Linked DNA regions of Homo sapiens: all the other regions are linked to region 4. Evidence: promoter capture Hi-C in human tissues and cell types (Jung and others, 2019). All regions are on one chromosome and are shown on one strand. The core of a region is centred on a gene start or on the middle of the fragment in contact, and the rest is flanking DNA. Distances in the headings are between cores, read along the strand shown.

What was found. Contacts are between HindIII fragments. The study calls those that stand out against the background at their distance.
Region 1: a fragment that was not itself captured here is called in contact with the fragment with the promoter of CSNK2A3 in region 4 in 2 of the 25 tissues and cell types used here (aorta and bladder).
Region 2: a contact is called between a fragment that was not itself captured here and the fragment with the promoter of CSNK2A3 in region 4, in 2 of the 25 tissues and cell types used here (adrenal gland and aorta).
Region 3: a fragment that was not itself captured here is called in contact with the fragment with the promoter of CSNK2A3 in region 4 in 2 of the 25 tissues and cell types used here (IMR-90 fibroblasts and adrenal gland).

Annotation. Positions count from the first base shown.
Region 1 is chr11:11,463,029-11,468,035 of GRCh38, reverse strand. The region is part of intron 1 of GALNT18 (polypeptide N-acetylgalactosaminyltransferase 18); the gene reads left to right. Among named protein-coding and RNA genes, the nearest start is that of GALNT18-AS1, 100 kb to the left of the region's middle. The HindIII fragment of the contact is 4,472 bases long and covers 957-5,007 here.
Region 2 is chr11:11,260,188-11,264,776 of GRCh38, reverse strand. LOC124902631 (a long non-coding RNA gene) reads left to right here and starts at 3,147. Exons shown (of 2, transcript XR_007062594.1): 1 at 3,147-3,335. The HindIII fragment of the contact is 7,504 bases long and covers 1-4,589 here.
Region 3 is chr11:11,227,019-11,231,859 of GRCh38, reverse strand. No RefSeq gene overlaps it. Among named protein-coding and RNA genes, the nearest start is that of LINC02752, 110 kb to the right of the region's middle. The HindIII fragment of the contact is 4,347 bases long and covers 1-4,162 here.
Region 4 is chr11:11,350,316-11,355,273 of GRCh38, reverse strand. CSNK2A3 (casein kinase 2 alpha 3) reads left to right here and starts at 2,024. Exons shown (of 1, transcript NM_001256686.2): 1 at 2,024-3,332. The coding sequence starts at 2,155. The coding sequence ends at 3,330. All of the region lies in intron 6 of GALNT18 (polypeptide N-acetylgalactosaminyltransferase 18), which reads left to right. The HindIII fragment of the contact is 7,765 bases long and covers 704-4,958 here.

The sequences.
Region 1 (5,007 bases), core at 1,943-4,442, 110 kb before region 4:
GACCTGAAGTTCTGCTGATTAGGGAGGGGCTAATTTCTTAAGACTTCTTAGTAATTATCCTGACCCAGACCTTCTTCCCTAGAATCTCTTAGGATGGAACATCTCGGGGTGATCTGTAGTCTTAACAAACTTACCAGGTGGATTCTTGTATACACACTGAAGTTTGGAAACCACTATCCTTAATCCAGTGGTTCTAAATCTTGGCTGCATATTGGAATCACCTGGAGAGTTGAGAAAACAATGAAAGGAAATACTACAAAAGAGATGCCCCAAACCCCACCTCCAGAGATTTTGACTCAACCAGGGTTGGGCCTGAGCATTCTTAATTTGATGTGATTATCTCATTCCCAGTTGACTTAATGTGTAGCCAGGGTTGAGAACTTGGGTTAAACTGTGTTCTCAGCCATGGTGCCTGTCTGTGCCCTGAATGTGCACAATGCATGAGCGTGTGGGCGTGTCTCCTGGGCTGATTCCAACCCTTGGGGACATTTATGGCTGGGACCTGGGCTTGCTCTGGCAAACAGAGTGGTTCCCTTTAAATGCCTGCATCTGGCCATCAGACTGGCATGGCGCCTGTGCTGTGTTCAGAGGATGTTGCTGGAAGCTGGGAGAAAAGCCTCTGCCATATCACCTCTCTCATCTGGCTCTGGGTAAGAAAGGGCTCTGTGAAGGGGCAGGGGTGGCAGCTGCAGCGGAACCAGTGGCACTGGGAAGATTTCTGGCCATGGAGCCATGGGTGACCTAGGTTGGGGCAGCAGCACCTGATGTAGTAGTTGCTATAGAGCTATGAGCCCTGATCCTCAGTGTGGCTTCTGCGTGTCAGTGTGGAGAGACAGCAGAACCCTCCTGCCTGCCGTGGGCACACATAGCATATGCAGCCGGTGGGCACACACGGTGATGTCTATCTTCTCCCCATTAAGGGCCTCCTGCCTCCCGGGCCCCAGGTTCGGAAGATGTTCTCCTCCGCACATACTGCCTGTGTGCAGAGATGAGCAGTTCATTTTCCATCTTTTATTAATCAAAGACACATGTAGCTGTTAATCAGGGCTTCTGACTCCCAGTAGGTAAGAAGATTTTCTACTCTGAGCCTTCTAGAAATTGCACATAAGCCAAGTAATGGGTCCTTTCATTGATCTGCGTGTGTCCTATTGCCAGGCCTTTTGGAAGCAGTTTGAAGAGCTCAGGAACACCCTGCCCAGGTCTCCCTTCTGTCTTGCTTCCCGCTCATTCCTGCCCCAACTTTACCTCTCTGTGTCATCTTTAGCAAGTCCTCCAACCTCTCTGATAGAAAAAATGCCTTGGCCTCATCGTTTCCCCTGAGAAAGGAGACAGATGAACTCATTAGCTTTCATGGTTCAAAGCACCTTCTTTGGCCACAGACCCTTTCTTTAAAGGGTTTCTTATGCAAAATCCTAATAGGTAAACAGACTGAATTAGAGCTATTCTGGCAAAGGAGGAAAGAGGGGTCTCAGACTCCCCTCACCCCTCTCTCAGGGTCCACTGTCCCCAAGGGGGCTCCACAGACTCTTTTGGAAACCTCAGTTGTAAATAAGTTATTTTCAATGGGGGATCATCCCTCCTTTCCTGGGTGTCCGTATCAAAATCTTGGGAAAGTCAAGTGGCACATGTACTTTGAAAAATCATATTTCAAAATGGCCATTGTTTCTATTTGTTTTCATTTGTGATACCTAATTTATTTTCAAATTTCAAGTAACATGAAAGGAGGGTAGGGATTTCAATATTCACGTAAAGGTGGCACTGGTTTATAAAGGTTGCAGTCCGTTGATCTACATCAGTGTTTTGCAAAATGCAGTCACAACCCACCCAGCAGGCCATGAAATCAATTTACTAGGTCATGAACAGCATTCCTTCTTAATAGAATATTACAGAATAAAACAGAATGTGTCAGAGTTAATCACACATGGTCATGCTAAAGATTGTTTTGTAACCTCGTTTCCCTTATATCTGTTTGCGTATAATGGGTGAAATGCAAAAAATACAGTTTTGTAGGTTATGATTGAGAAGAGCTGAGAAGCACTGGTCTGGATGGATGCCTCCTGTGGTTCCTTTGGGCCCTGACTTTGGCTCACATCCACATCTGGGAGACCTTCCTACCCCCTATGTTGAGCAGAGCACTGGTGAGCCATGCAGTGAGGCCAGGGAAGAAGGCAGAAGTACTCAGCAGTATGACAGTGCAAGCCCCTCCCCTAGAGATAGCTGAGTACCCTACATAAATATCGTGCAGTAATTCCACATCCTCCTGGGGCCTGGCAGAGGAGAAGAGGTTAATATGGAGCCAGCTGACCTTGCCCAGGTCCATGGTCCAGGAGCTAACCGTGGTATGTCTTATACAGGTGGGTGAAGCAAGTGTATGAAGTGGTCTGGGCACTCCATTTCTCTACCCCTGATCAGCCCCAGCAGCAGAGAAGCTTGTCACCTCCAGGCCTCTCTGGTTCCCGGAGGCCATTCTCAAGACCCTTCCTAAGCTGTGCTTCCTGACCTCATGGCCAGGTGGCTTTGGCTTCTGTGGCTACTGAGCTGCCATGGATACGGATCACGAGCCCCAGGATCAGAGGGCAGCGTGACACCGTCCGTGCAGCCTGGAGGAGCAGCACTCAAGCTTTGAGTAATCCTTGGTGTTTTCCTGCACAGTGACAGCTCCATAAGGTGGGAATCTCTGCTTCCTAGCCCTGGGCTACACAGTGTGATGGATGACCCTGCCCACCCAACTCCCCAGTCTCAGGGGAAATCAGTCTAAATACAGACCCTCCCACTGTGGCATTCAGCTCCCGGTGCCAATGTGGCCTCCTTGACATCCCTTCCTCCCCTGACCTCAGCAGGAATGGGGCTGAGGATCTGGGAACAGACCTTCCTCAGGCATCCCAAGGCACCTCGCCCAGGTTACCAGTGGGATCTGTATTCTCTCTGTCCTCGTAGAGAGGATAGAGAAGTTGCCTTATGTTCTAAGTTACTCTGTGTACTTGACTCTGGTGGGGAAGACAAGAAATAATAAGCAGCCACCCCAACAACTCCCCACTGCTCGTAATTCCATCCCCAGCTCCCAGCCCAGCACCTGACCAGTAACAATAATAGTAACAACAGCCGGTGTTTATGTTGCCCATAGAATGTGAAAGGCTCTGTTATTAACTTATTCAGTCCTCACAATAACCCCACAAGGAAGTAGGTAATATGATTATCCCCAATTTTCAACATTAGTAAATGGAGGCACAGAGAAGTTAAGTGACTTGCACAAGGTCACACAGCTAGTGAGTAGTGAAGCCAAGCTCCAAACTCAGGCAGTGTGACTCAGAGGGTTGGCACTTCCCCGCTAGGCTATGCTGCTCTCTGCACTGCTGTATCTTGATGCATATTAATCAAATAAATGAATTTCATTTTATTTACAATGCCAAATTCATGGACTTTAATTTTCACTTTTCTGTGGGTACTCAGAAAAAAGTAGGGCAAGCCAATGTGTCTTTCTCAGTGTGCCAGGGCCCACGAGGGAGCTTCTTTCTGAACCACCCACCAGGAGGAAATGGCATTAGATCTGGGCCCATGCCTCCTTCCTGAAGAGGAGATGTTCATGGGACCAAGACAGGCTGTGCATCAGGGTGCCATCTCTGGGTGCCCACCAACTTTGAGGCATGGTGTGGAGGAGGAACTTCAGGGCTGCAGGGCCTCTGAGCAGAGTCCTCCTTAGATCTGAGCCTAGGAGACCTCGAGTCTCCCGGGAAGGCTGGCTTGGCCTCTCAAGATCTTTCTGGGCATAGGCTTTTTTGTTCACTTTAAAAATCCATTTGTGGAGCAAAAACTCATGATTATGGAAGAAAGTTTAGACTTTGTGGAAAATCCTGGGACCCACTGAAGAAGCCTTGCCTGACCTTGTACAGGAGCTATCAGTATGGATGCTTTTCAAAGCCCATGGCTGACAGAGATAGATAAGCTTGGGACCCCATTCACTACATCTTGGACGTGCAGTTTCTTTGTCCAAAACCTTTGCTTATTTTGTCTGGCTGCAGGCCGGGACTGCCTCCTTCCTCTGCTTCAGGTGCTCACAGAGCAAGACTGGGTTGGTAAATTAAGAATTTGCCAGATGGAAAGGACTAATTTTTCCCCCTTTCAAAATCATGAGCATGACGGTTTTTGCACACATTCCGCCGGACACATACTGCATTCATAATACAGAGCGTCGAGACAGCATAAAGGTTTCACATCTTTCATGTGATAAATATTTTTACCGTCATGCTCAAGAAATGGATTTTGTTTGAAAATGGCCTATTTCCTTTGATGGCTTCTTTGACGTGGATTCAAAGCCTTTCCCTATCCTGCCAGGGCCTGGGGTTGGGAGGGCCTGTTTGTTCAGTTTTTTCGAAGGACAAATCCACTTCTCCCTGATGAAATACAGCTGTGACTGCTGGGGGTGAGAGATTTACGACTTAGGACAGTAATGAAAAGACGTCCAGTGAGCCGACAGCTGCTGGGAGTGATGGCACGCTCAGCCCTGGGGCCACAACAGCTAGGGCTCCCAGGGGACGTGTAAGCAGACCTCAACCTCGCTGGGGCCCTGGCTCGTATTTATCCTTCTGCACTGTACACTACATTTAAAGAATCAGATGTGGGCTAGTTAACTGAATAATATTTCTTCTCACAAGTTTGTTTTTGTAAGTGTTCTTTTCTCATCTTTGAAATGACACATTTTTAATGCTCTTGCTATAAGCAGTGAGCAACCACTTGGGACTAGAAGAATCTGTTTTCAGGATGAGCTTTTGTAGGCTGCTGCGGGCTTCTGGAACTCTCTCTCTCTCTCTCTGTGTGTGTGTGTGTGTCTGTCTGTCTGTCTGAGTGTGTATGTCCATGTGTGAGGATACAGCCAGTGATAACTGAGGGAAGCAGGAACCCTGTTCTCTTGTGGGAGACTGTACTAATAGTTCCAGGGTCTTGTGATTGATATCCTCTCTCTCCACACTGCAGAGCACTGCTTACCCTCCCACCTGCCTGTCCTGTAGG
Region 2 (4,589 bases), core at 1,975-4,474, 92 kb after region 4:
CCAAGGGGTCACCTACTCGTAAGTGCTATGCCCTGCTCCAAAGACACAAACCCTTGGTCATGGTCACCTGCCCAAACCATGCGAACCCTCCATATGCGTTTGAGGTGCTGGCCTTTGCTATGGATGCAGGTTCCTCAGCCCCTCGCTCTTTGAACTCTGGCTCCCTCCCCTTTCCATCAGGGAAGGGGCTCCAGTCTCAGTATATCTGCTCACCTGCTGAGCTCACTGGATTATGAGTGGTGTGTAAGAAGATCCTAAAAATGATAATAACATCAACTAATTGATGACTTTGATGGCCAGGCACTGAGGTGAGTACTTCTATTTTCTCATTTAATATTCAATATAACCTTATCACGTAGCGCTATTATTAGCACCCTGTTTTACAGTTGAGAAAACTAAGGCACAGAAAGGCCAAATCATTCGATAAGGACATATAACTAGCAAAGGCTGGATTTGAACCCAGGGAGGCTGACTGTAGAGCCTTCCCTTTTATCCTCTTCTATACTATTCTGCCTCCATTCTGGACCCTGGGAACTCCACAATAACTTTATGCTGGAAGCTGCCATTGATACCAAAGTGTCCCACCCTGAAGTTCTACCTGGACCAAAGGAGCAATGACAACTAACACCTATAGAAGTGCCAAACCTGGCCCAGTAATATACCAGTGCCCTACCAACTCACTTAAACGCATGTTATCCTACAAGATGGTTCCAGTACTGACATCATTTTACAGAAGAAGAGACTGAGACACAGAGGTTAAATAGTTTGCCCACAGCTAGCGAGGAGTAGTAGCCAGAACTTGTACTCAAGCCCCCTGCTGCCAATCATCTGTGGTCTTAACCACCATAACCTGCTACCTCCCAGCTACCTCACTGCCTATGCACTCGCTGCAGAATCCACAGGAAAACCCCTCTGGGAACCAACTTCCTGTAGCTCCATGTGCTGCCAGAGCTGTAAGCACCGCCCCCTGCTTCAATTCCCTAGCGAGCCTGCCCTTCCAAACGTGACCATGGTGATTAATGAGCCAATTATTTCTGTAGAAGACATGGTACAAAATAAATAGCCCATTTCCCTTCAATTTACTGTTTTAATAAATAGCGCTCCATGCTCTGGTTTTGTTTATTGCTGCTCATACCTGAAAGTTTGTGATTAATCTTCTTGTTGTTCATTTCCAAAATTAATCACATCTGCCTGATGACTTTGAAATATAGGACTGCATTTGTCCTTCGATGTTAACATCAAGACACCCAGGGCTGGGAGCTGGGGGATGAGGATGGGGAAAGGCAGGTCTGAGGAAAGACTGAGCAGAGGGCAGGATGCCCAGAGCTCTGGATGCATGCCATGCACACTGAGACCTGAGTGCCCACACCCAAGAAGTGTGGCCAGGGAGGCTCAGAATGCAGTGTCATGATTTATGGTTCAAGGAAAACCACCAGGAGTGATGAGCACGTGAGGAAGAGCAGAAACTCCTCTTTCCTGTACTTGAAACTTTGGCCAATTGGCCAACCAGGGATGCTGCACACAAAGATTCCAACCAAAATCCACCGGATGGGCCAAACTCACAAAGGTGTTTACCTTCTTTCCAGGGGTCACAGCAATTGCATAGTTGTTTATTCAACTGGTTCTTTTGTAGACCCCTGGGTATGGGCACAGAGGAAAAGAGCAGAAGTCTGGGTGTCTCTTGTAAGGTGCTTACTATCTGAAAGGATGTCTTAGGAAAATGGTAGCTCCTCAGTGTACAATGTGATGAGAAGTAAAAGAAATTCCATAATTGAATGTCTGTGATGTGCATTTATATTCTACATGCTTTGACGTTTATCAAGTCTTACAATATAGCTCATGAGGTAAATATTAACTACCCATTTTATAGATGAGGAAAGGAAGAGGTTCAGATGAGATCAATAACTTACCCAAGTTCTCAGAGCTACTAAGTGAAAGTGAAATAATTCAAATTTGTATCTAGGTCTTCAGACTCGAGGACCAGTGTTGTTTTTCATATAGAATATAGGTATGTTCTGTGTGTGTGTGAGTGCGTGTATGTGTGTGAGTGAGTGAGTGACAGAGAGAGAGAGAGAGAAATCTGGGCTGGGATAGTCCAAGAATGCCACAGAGAAGGGGTGGTCATTATAACCTGGGCTTTTATGGGTGAATAGGAGTTTTCTGAACTGAAAAGGATAAGAGAATGACATGTCAGTTAGAAAGACGACTTAGGTCTGACTTAAAGTAATAGTAAAGGAAGGTGAGGAGATAAATTATCAAGCATGGTGAATGACTGGCTATGATGAGTGAGAGACAGAAAGGCATATACTTAGAACATGGTCACTTCCCTTCACCTGGTATCTCTTGGCAGTGAGGGGATCTGTCTCACATCTGCCCCCGATCTTCCCTCAGCTCTCTCCAGGATGCTGCCTCATCCACCAGCTGAGGCTAGAATAGGCCAGCTGCCTCACTTTAATTCTCCATGCCTCCACCACACAAGGCTGTCAGGTAGACCAGACCTCCCTGACATGTTAGTGGTAGCAAAGGCAAATCACAGATGTGGGAGCAGGCCAGGTTTTCCATTCATGCTTGCTTTATAAAGCTTCCTCGTAGTTCAAGGGGAAATATACAAATATGAAGGTTAATCCTTCACAGGGTGTCCACCCCCTCATGGACAAAGCTCAGCTCAGAGCCTGAGTCTCTGGTCCTCGGACCTGCCCTCTGGGAGAGTGTCCCCTTCTGCAATCTGTATGAAGACACACGGTGTGGCTCTCCTTCCCACCGACATGTCTAGAATTTAAAAGATCACCTCCTACACACCCCAGTTACCAATGCAGCCTCCTCCCGTCTCCCCTGACTGGTCCTAATCCCCTCCACTCCAGGGTTTCTCAACATGTGATCCACCCCTACCTGCATCTGCAGCTGGGGTCACTGGTGTTTGTAAGATGCAAATTTGGGAGCCCCTGCTGCAGATCTACCCAATCAGGATCACCCAGCTAACGCTTTCTAGTCCCTTGGGATTCAGCTTAAAATACCTCCTCTGAAAGTGTCCCTGAGCCTCCAGGGTGAGACTGGGGCCCCCTCCGTGCCCTTCTGTAATTGGTTATCTGCCCTGCCGGACTGAGCTCTGTGACAGCAGTGATTTTGCTTCCTTCCTGTGTTCTAGCACCCACTCCAGCACCTAGAGGAGAGCAGGTAAACCAAAGGAAGGGAGGAAGGGAGGAAGGGAATGGCATGACCATGCTTGGCTGCCTTCCTCCCAGCGCGTGAGGATTTGGACCAATTCTTCTTACCCTAAACTCAGCCTCTGAGTTTCAGAGTAACCCTGACTTGCAGAGTTCCAGACATGGAACCAGGTAAGTATAGGGAGGATCATCCACTGCAGTTCCTGATTAACAATGCATCTCTACTGGGGCCACAGCCTTGCTAGACCTGGGCCTGGAATCCCTGTTGGCCTTGCCAGGCCCCTTCCCCTTGGGACTGAACACTTGGTCTGGCTGCAGAATAATCCTTCCCTGGGACTCTGCTCCCACATCGACCCATCCTTAAAATCTTGGGACTCCCACCCCTCTGTAAATAAAAGAAGATCAATATCAGCTTTGCCCTGAGTGAGAGTGTGTGTGTGCGTGCGTGTGTGTGTGTGTCTGTGTGGAGGGCAGGCATGAAGCATGTGAGTGCAGGGTGGTATGCTGGCTTGTGCACATGTGCATATGTGCATAAGGGTGCTGTTGTTATCCCTACGGGTATTTCAGAATGTGCTGTGGAATGAGTGTTTCTGTCTGTGATACATGTATATACAGCCAGGGGTTTTTATGTGTGTATGCACAAGGTAGTTTTTCTGACATTGGTATGATTGAGCTTGTTTTTATTTCCTTTATGTTTATTTTATCTGCATTCAACTGTTCTTTGCAGAGGCTCCACAGATCTCTTGAAACCATTTATTTACCTATACTGTCCTTCCTGCTAGGCAATGAGAGCCCTGAAGGCAGAGACATTACGTGATTTGTCTTTGTATCCGCAGCTTCTAGCACAGTGCCTGACATGCCTGCATGTGTTCATTCTTTCATTCCTTCATTCAACATATATGCATCCATCTTCTAACTGTGTGCTGTATGTTGGGGACACAACCATGCATGAAGAGAGACACAGTCACTGCCCTCATGGAGCTTAGAGTCTAGTGGAAAAGACAAATACTAATCAAATAATTAAATAATGTAAAAGTGCAACTGTACAAAGTACTAAGAAAGGGACATACGGAGGCCAAGATGGGTGGATCACCTGAGGTCAGGAGTTCGAGACCAGCCTGGCCACATGGTGAAACCCTGCCTCGACTAAAAATGCAAAAATTAGCTGGGCATGGTGGTATGTGCCTGTAATCTCAGCTACTCAGGAGGCTGAGGTGGGAGAATTGCTTGAACCCGGGAGGCGGAGGCTGCAGTGACCTGAGATTGCACCACTGCACTCCAGCCTTGGTGACAGAGCAAGACCCCATCACAAAAAAAGGGGGGGACACACAGAATCCTGACAGAGTATAAAAGGCAGATTAAACTAGTCAGGGAAGTGAGAGGTGGATTCCGAGGAAATGACACTTAAGCTGACGTGCACATGAG
Region 3 (4,841 bases), core at 740-3,239, 120 kb after region 4:
TACGAAAGTTTTACAGAAACTCAACTAGACCACACACATCATCTCAATACCATGGCCTTCCAAGCATCTGGTTCAGTGGTCCCTAAAAGGAAAAGACTGTTCCAACATGGACCCCACCCTTAGCTGCCTCACTGTTGCCAGCCTCCTTTCCAGATTACCTGTCTCTTGTCCCTCATCCAGACATCTCCTGTGCTGTCACTAGAAGTAGGCACCTATCTCATAGATCTGGTCAGGCCAATCTCCTTAATACCCCAGTGACTCCCCATTGTCTTCAAGATGGAATAAAACTTTCTCAACTTGGCATGCAAAGCCCTTTAAAACCTGGTCTTCGTTCAGGCCTGATGTGCAGCCAGTACTCACCAGTAAAGCCATACCAGCTGTTAAAACATTGAAATACTTCTGTGCTCACTCGATGACCCCAGACATGCACCAGCCAACCTCCTTGCTCACATGTCTCCTGGCCAGAGCCCTGAAGAGAAACAGTTCCCTGATGGCATTTGGCACTGACTCCCCTGTAGGTGTATGCTGGGCTGGGCTAAGGTCCCTGGTGCAGGCCAGCATCCCCCGGAGGCGCCCTCACATGGAAATGTTCAGGTACTACAGCTTCTGTGGTAGACCACACTGGTTGTAAAATGCAGTATTTCGAATATTACTCCCACCTCAGTCAACGAACTGGATTTATTACCATTTCCTTGTTCACTTATTTGATAAATAAAGAATGCCTGAATGAATAAAGGGATGAGTGATATGTGAGCTAGTACTTGCTGTCTTCCCCAGCCCTGTCATGAAGGATGGGGGTTCACAGGGACACATTGGTGATTAGAAGACACAAATAAGGTACCAACCACAGTGACCACAGAGATGTCACTCAGTGCCAGAAATGGCCACTCGGGAAGGGACTTTCATAGATGGGTTATACCCCAACCAAGTTCTCAAGAAGTGTCTTTCATGGGTGGGTTGTACCCCAGCCAGGTTCTCAGCCATCTGAGTTTAGCAAGTGAAATTTTGCAGTGCACCCCAAAGTCATTTTTCAGCAGCAAACTCACATAACCAGGTTCAAAAGTCACATTGTAAAGTGGGAATGCCAGCCTAATGATTGGTAAAGGTGACTGCAGTGCTCTGTCTCTTGTCCAGGCATTTCAGTTGAGATTTTTTCAGTTGCCAGAGACAGGAATTCTAATTCAAAAATGACTTAAGTGCAAAAGGAATTTATCAGCTTTCAAAACTGAAAGTTCCAGGGAATAAATCTAGTTTCAGGTACAGCTGGATTCAGGCATCAAATGGTATCATCAGGACTCAATTTCTTCCTTCTCTGGGTTCTACCTTGTTGATTTAGGCTCCACATGGTGGATAGATGGCTTCCTGCCTCCAGGATCCCATCTTCCCAGCTTCAAGTCTAGCTGGCAGGAGTGGAAGAGTCTCCTCTGGAAGCCTCAGCATGCATCTCATGGCATCTCCTTGGCCCTAATGAGGTCACATAGCCAACTCTGAGCCAAGCCTTGCGACCAGCAGAGGAGTGTTACATTCTGATTGCCTGAGGCCTAGATCACATGCTCCACCCCTAAGCCAAGAGTTGGTGCCTCCCAAGCACAAGGGCTGAGTGTAGGGGAAAGAGGGAAGTTGGATATGGGCACCACAATGCAGGGGTGGATGCTGGGCAGCAAACCCAACCAATGCCCACTGTACCAGGACACCTTATTATAGTCCTGAGGAGGCCAAAACATTCTTCTGAGGCTTGCTTGGTATGTCAGAATAAGGCAAGAGGGCTATTAAGAAGTGAGATTATTTTTACCAAGATCTAGAAATTGTCCTCACGCCAAAGCAGAACACCCATCTCTCAGGCAGAGCTGGGAACAGGCTAACAACCCTCCTCTCTGAAGCCCAGTTTCTCCCTAGGCCCCATCCCTTCTGCAGGCAGACTGTGCCTTGATTCAGATGGGTTGACATCACCAATCCTACCTCAAGGCTGTAGGTGAGTCATTGTGCCCAGCTGTGCCCACCCTGCATAGGTTTTCTTCACTCTGACTCATTTACATTGATTCATAAATAAAATGCATTCCCATGGTTCCTTCTACTTGTTCTAATGCTGTCCTGCACAACCCAGTTCAGCAGCCTAATGAGATGGAGCAGGGCAGAGACTTCTCTGCATATCTTATAGATGGTGTGATGAAAGGAAAGAGAGGACAAATGATACGCCCAGGTTCACACAACAGGATAAAGGCTACTCCACCCCCTGCTGATGACCCCCTGGCTCAGCACTTACTACAGCAATGAAGTTACCTACTGAGGTTTGTCAGTGACAGTCCAATCTCTTCAGCGTATCACTGAGATGTACCAAGAGACTGACCCTTAGAATGGAGGTGAAAATACTTTTTTCTTAGCCACTCCCGGGCAATTTCCTCCCACTTTCTCCCATTCTTGGCCCCTGAGCCACTCACAGAGGCACTGCCCTTGTCATTCTTAGGCTGGAGGGATAATTCCTCTTGGCTGTGGGGTGGAACCCTGCACAGCAATCTGTCCCTGAGGACTGACATAGCTCCCATCTAGATGCAGTCAGTGCTCAGATAAGACAAGATGGATGGCAAACAACGTTTGGACCAACAGGTGCCATTTGTTAACATGCTCTAGATCAATGGCTTCAAAAATTAAAACATTCTGTATCTGTCAGATGTCTCCACCAGACCCTCTGGCAGGGCAGAGGTACCAGCTGCAGATTGGTGTGAGGTTGGGGGCCATAGAAGGGAGGGGAGATTTCAGTTGGTGGTAGGGAGGATATGGCATTTCCTACCAGAGCAAAAAGCAAGCTCCCTCCCACTGCAGAGGTTCCCCAAATAAGTCAGAGGATGGGGGAGAGGCAAGTCCAGATGCTAACATTTCATAGCAAAAGGATGGAGGGACACATTCCCTGAGTTTCCTAAAACATCAAGCATTGTCTTGGGCATGGCATATACCTGAAACATGGAGGCCTCCTCCCTTGCCTGGAGAAAATGAGCCCACAATGGTGAACGCCTGTCTCCTGTTTTCTACTGTCATTCGGATTCATGAGTGTAACACATGCTGTGGAGCCTCCATCCCATATCCAGCCCACCTGAGTTTACCTGCAGCTATGAGGACATCTCAGCTCTCACCCCCGTGCATGTCCCTCCTCTCTGCCTGGCTGGCATCCTGCCTGAGAGCCTGCTCTCAGTGGCCAGTCACCACCGTGACATGCGGGGGAGTTAATGCCCGGGGTGGGTATGGCAGGGAGTGAATAAGTGCCCCAGGCTCCCTGCCCCTCCAGTGGCTCGATTTTGAGGCAAGGGCCACATGGTTTTCAGAAAGCTTCCAGGGATCAACCCCAGTTGCCCATGACTGTAACTCATTCATCAGAGCATTCACTTTATTGTTTTTTCGTCTTCTATGTCTAACCTTGCCTACTTCATCATTGTGCTTCCGGGGATCACCTCCCAAATAAACAACCGTGTCCTTGTTTCCCAAGAATGCTCCTCTCTGTGTTGACTCTGTGCAGCCCTTTCTTAACCCGAGCCTCCTATAGGATCATAGTGCTATGTGAGTGGAGGGTACAGAAAGGGGCACTGGCTCCACCCTGACTTTTCTACAAATCCCAGAGCATTGCACCTCTCACCCTACCCCCACCACCTTTGCCCTGGGCTCACCAGTCAGCTCTTGATCTTCCAGGATTGGTCCAGCCCAAGGGTCTGTATCGACACAAGCCACGTGGTACAGTAGAAAGAACATGGAGGAGGGTGCTTGGCTTCCAGCTCTTTGATGACCTATGCAGCTGTGGGGAAGACATATGACCTCTCTGAACCTCAGAATTGGGAAATCTCTAAAATTAAGAAAGTACCAAACCTCTCTCACGGGGTTGTGGCTATGATCAAACAGGGAAATATATGTGAAGCTCTATGTAAACTCTAACTTTTTCCACAGCTGATATTCAGCAAGTACCTACCAGAACAGCTCTATCTGTGGTTTATGGCTGTTGCTTGTTCTGACTGGCCAGAGCCTGTGCTGTCCCTGTTATTAAATATGTCAAATATCACTTCTGAATAGCATCACTATTACCTGTACATCTTGTATCCCTTGCTTGGAGGCAGCCGGCCAACCTCTCTGAATAGTAGAATCACAGCTCATCTATAAGGAGAGTCCTAGGGAGGGCCATATTGCTGTGCCAAGGAAGAATGTCCTAGTACAAGACATGGAGGCATCCTCCAGATAGATCGATCCCATTTCAAATGGGCAAACACAGAGCATCTTGTGCAAATATGCCACAAGACTTGCTTCAAGGCCCAGCCCGTTGCTAAGGAGTCCAGTGTTTCACCCAGCTTAATTAAGCATGTTTAAAGGGATACATGCTCTCCCCCATCCATCCACAAAAAGGCCCTTGGCAGAACTCGAGTAATTAATCAGAGGGCTGTGCGAGTGGATGCTCTCTCGCTTGTGAAGAAAAGCTGACCTGGGCTTAGATCTAAGGGATTTGAGCTCTGAATAATCTTGGAAGATTGGGGAAGGCAACCTGGGGACAGGCCAGCAGGCACTCAGGGTTGCGCATGGGAGAGAGATACTCACACTCTGCAATGTGGCATAATACAATGAGGTAGGGAGATGAGAAAAGGTCTTCATTAGAATCTGTTTGCATATTCATTGTCAACTGTGACTAGCTTAAACTAAACTCACCCATCACAGAAATCCATAGTGACTGTCAGACAATGATAAGCCTTCTTATTTCTCAATTTTGCTTTAAAGTAGACATGACTGAAAATATGCACTGTGTGATGCTCATAATCAGAGATAGACTGCAATTAAAACTAACCAATGATTAAACTTCACCCTCACCCCAA
Region 4 (4,958 bases), core at 775-3,274:
GTCAGGGATTTTTTATATTTTGTTCTGTGGTAAGATTCCCATCTCCTACAACAAAGACTGGCACATAGTAAGTGCTCAGTAAATAATTGCTGAACTGCATTAAAGCAGAGGAGGGACATGCTCTGATGTATAATTTTAAAAAGTGGATTGGAGGGCAATACGGATTGAAGGGCAACACGACAACGCAGAAAGACCAGGGAAGAGGCTCTGGATGGAGATGCCCACACAAAAATAATAGGGACTTGGACCAGGATGTTGGCTGTGCAGATGGAGAGAAGTGATTAAATTCAAGCTATATTTAGGAGGTAGAACTGTCTGCTTTTGCCGATGTATTGGATGTGGAGAGGGAGGAAGAAGACATTGCTACAGATGAATTACAGGTTACAGGCTTCGGCTATTAGATGGATGAGGGGCAGACTAAGGGACAGATGGGGAGGCAGGGAAGAAAATCGGGAACTTCGTTTTGGACATGGTAAGGTTGAGATGCCTGAGACACATGAGAGTGAAGGTGAGACGTAGGCACTTGGGTATATAAATCTTGAGCTCAGAGGAATGTAGTGTGTTTTCCCCTGTCCCGAAAAGCTGTGGTATAGCAATAGTGAATCTTATCATCAGTGGAATATTATAGTGATAATAATTATAGCTGATACTTAGGGGCCTCTAAACTTCTTCCAGGTGATGAAATAAACTGTCTCTGTGTATTACTTCATTTAATTCTCACAGCAACTATCTTTGGAATTTATCACTTTTATCTCCATTTCATAGACAAGGAAACTGAGTGTTGGAAGGTGAAGTGAATTGCCTAAAGTCACCAGTTCAGCAAATGGGAAATGTAGGACTTGACACCAAGACTGTTTGGCCCCAGAGGCTATGCTCTGAACCATAATGACTTCCTGTCTTCCAAAAGGCAGGCTCTTGGATCCATATCTTACTGTGCTTCTAAATTATCCTGTGACCCTGAACCTTAGTTTGCTCACCTGGGAAATGAAGGGAGGTCCTGGTTAGGTTCCCTTCAGTTCTACTCTATTGCAGTATGCTGATCTCTTTTGTAAATCTGTATTAAATGAGAGTTTGCTATCGGTGACTTTCAGAGATGACACCAGTGATGATGCCCATGCTGACGATTCATTCTGATGTCTATGAAAAGAGCAAATCCTTTAAGAGAAGATGTAGCATACCAGTGTTTATAATCTGAGTTTCATTTGATTAAGAGGGGAAGCTCTTTAGAACAAATATCATTTCTGAGCGAGAGAATGTTCAGCATCTCAGCCTCATTTGTATCATTTGATAAAAGGGCCCCACTGAGCCAAGTGTGAGGATGATGCTTGAGCCAGACACATAGACACCAGACATTCCTCTGATGTCTGCTCCCCAGGCTTGGCCACATTGCCTCCCACCAACCCCATCTCAATGACACATCCATTACCTGCCATCAGTTGGCTCTATGGTGCTGGGAATGACAGAGTGTATCTACCCTGGATTTCAGAAAGAACCCTCCTGGCTTATCATGGCAACACCCTTTGGACACTCGTTTAAAGAGTCCTTCTTTGGGCCAGTGTTATCCTTTTGGGGGCATCTGGTATGGACGGCCAATTTGAATCTGACTGGGACATGCTAATGAGCCATTCATATGTGTGGGATTTGTTTCTGATTCGATTAAGCTTCAGAGAGAGGAAAGAAACAGCCACTGATTAGAGACATAAAAAAAGAAATACTTTAAGTGAGTAAGTGGTTCATCTTCATATAGGAAAGTATAAATTAAACATGGTCCAGGAGATGTGCTTTGAATAGCAGCTGGATAGCACAAGCATGTCCACAAGGAGACGGTGCCTCACAGCAATTGAAAGGGACTTAACCCCCAAAAAGGGCTCTGAATATGCTGAGTAAATAGATGAGCCCAGTTAGCTGATAAAAATGACTCTCAGATTAGAGATGGGAAGGTTTTTATTTGGATTTTAGAAAATTGCTCCCCACTCCATCGCCGCCATATTGTCTGTGTGAGCAGAAGGGAGAGCGGCCACAGCCGCTGCCGCTTCCACCACAGTGTGAAGAAAACAGGTCTGAAACAAGGTCTTACCCCCAAGCTGCTTCTGAACACAGTGACTGCCAGATCTCCAAACATCAAGTCCAGCTTTGTCCGCCAACCTGTCTGACATGTCGGGACCCGTGCCAAGCAGGGCCAGAGTTTACACAGATGTTAATACACACAGACCTCGAGAATACTGGGATTACGAGTCACATGTGGTGGAATGGGGAAATCAAGATGACTACCAGCTGGTTCGAAAATTAGGCCGAGGTAAATACAGTGAAGTATTTGAAGCCATCAACATCACAAATAATGAAAAAGTTGTTGTTAAAATTCTCAAGCCAGTAAAAAAGAAGAAAATTAAGCGTGAAATAAAGATTTTGGAGAATTTGAGAGGAGGTCCCAACATCATCACACTGGCAGACATTGTAAAAGACCCTGTGTCACGAACCCCCGCCTTGGTTTTTGAACACGTAAACAACACAGACTTCAAGCAATTGTACCAGACGTTAACAGACTATGATATTCGATTTTACATGTATGAGATTCTGAAGGCCCTGGATTATTGTCACAGCATGGGAATTATGCACAGAGATGTCAAGCCCCATAATGTCATGATTGATCATGAGCACAGAAAGCTACGACTAATAGACTGGGGTTTGGCTGAGTTTTATCATCCTGGCCAAGAATATAATGTCCGAGTTGCTTCCCGATACTTCAAAGGTCCTGAGCTACTTGTAGACTATCAGATGTACGATTATAGTTTGGATATGTGGAGATTGGGTTGTATGCTGGCAAGTATGATCTTTCGGAAGGAGCCATTTTTCCATGGACGTGACAATTATGATCAGTTGGTGAGGATAGCCAAGTTTCTGGGGACAGAAGATTTATATGGCTATATTGACAAATACAACATTGAATTAGATCCACGTTTCAATGATATCTTGGGCAGACACTCTCGAAAGCGATGGGAACGCTTTGTCCACAGTGAAAATCAGCACCTTGTCAGCCCTGAGGCCTTGGATTTCCTGGACAAACTGCTGCGATATGACCACCAGTCACGGCTTACTGCAAGAGAGGCCATGGAGCACCCCTATTTCTACACTGTTGTGAAGGACCAGGCTCGAATGGGTTCATCTAGCATGCCAGGGGGCAGTACGCCCGTCAGCAGCGCCAATGTGATGTCAGGGATTTCTTCAGTGCCAACTCCTTCACCCCTTGGACCTCTGGCAGGCTCACCAGTGATTGCTGCTGCCAACCCCCTTGGGATGCCTGTTCCAGCTGCCACTGGCGCTCAGCAGTAACGGCCCTATCTGTCTCCTGATGCCTGAGCAGAGGTGGGGGAGTCCACCCCCTCCTTGATGCAGCTTGCGCCTGGCGGGGAGGGGTGAAACACTTCAGAAGCAACGTGTCTGAACCGTTGCTTGTGGATTTATAGTAGTTCAGTCATAAAAAAAAATTATAATAGGCTGAAAAAAAAAAAAAAGAAAATTGCTCCCCAAATCCCTATGACATTTAAGCTCATTGTCATTCTCTGGCAGCACCAGTGACAGTAATGGGGGCCAGAGATCCTATTTCAAAACAAAGAAGTGATTACAGTAGATAGCGCAGGTGTCAATGGGACCCTGATTTGGAACTTGCTAATACTTCTGTCTCTGAGTTTGGGGCTTCTATAGGGTTTTGGTTCCATAGATATGCCTGGACTTGAACTAGCTTACCTTCCCAGCCTTGTGCATCGGGAAGCTGTGAGGGTCAGATCCTTCTAGATTTTGTGTCCCCTTACAAGGGTTGGAAGAGTCTGGCTGCAGCCCTGGCCTCACCAGCTGGCTCCCTCTTGCGTAAGTGGAGTTGCCACAGGGCTTCTGTCTGTGGCTTTCCAAGGAACCTGGAGCTGTATGTCATCTTCAAACCTGGACCTTTCCTCTACCACCCTGGCTAGCTTCACCCTTGGTTTCCTGCCCTCTGCTCTGGTTCTGAGTTTGAACCAAACTCTCACAGCAGCCCGATGTGCAGGAGTCCAAATGTCCTGCCTGCCCCTTGCAGCTCCCTCTCTCACCCCTTGGGGCTAGATCTGCTCCCTGCATCCTCAGCCTCTAGTGGGGTACTGCTTTGAATGAACTCATCAGCTGGAATTGGGAAGCGGTCACCTTCCAGACACTCCATCTGTCCCTATACCTGGAGCTTTCTCATATGAGCCCCACACAATAGATTGAACCTCTGGAAACTGGTGCCTGCAGGGACCATGCCTCTTTGGTCACCTTGCCTCTTTACATACTGGCAGCATCACAGACTGAAACAGCAGCTCTCAGAACTGCTGGAAATAGAGGTTACCCAGGAAATGTCCTATTTTGCTCACACAGTCCCCTGAAGGCTGGCTGGGAGGCTCTCCTGTGCAGCTTTTCTCCAAGTAGTGACTTGGGGACTCTGATTGCTTCTCTTGTGGGTTCAGCATCTTTGAACTTCAAGTTCACCCTGGCTTAAACATCCAGCAGATGGTGGGGTGGGGAGTAGAAGTGCACCTAAGGAGACACACTGGATAGTCACCTGCCTTCCCCGGGAAGTGGCAGAGGCCATGTCCTCTCTCATCTCATCGATTTGCACCCTCCTGACTGCAAGGGGTGCAGGGAAATATGGAGGAGCACCCAGGTGTCAGTGAGCAATAGGGGTCTCTGCCACACCTTTGGAGACCACTCTACTCCTGGCTCAGTTTCCCAACCCCTGTATGTCAGAGCCTGACGTCTTCCTTTTTCCAACTTGTCTTGAGTCCCATCTGGCCTGAGTTTGAACAATAGTAATCAGGCCTGTTGGCTGATATGAGATTTGAGGTAACCACGAATAAGCCCTTCTTGGTCAGAACCATTAAAGATAACTTCTAGTCTCAATGACCACACATTTGCAAAGCAGTCCTCCTGGAATGTCCTTCCCTGAACTC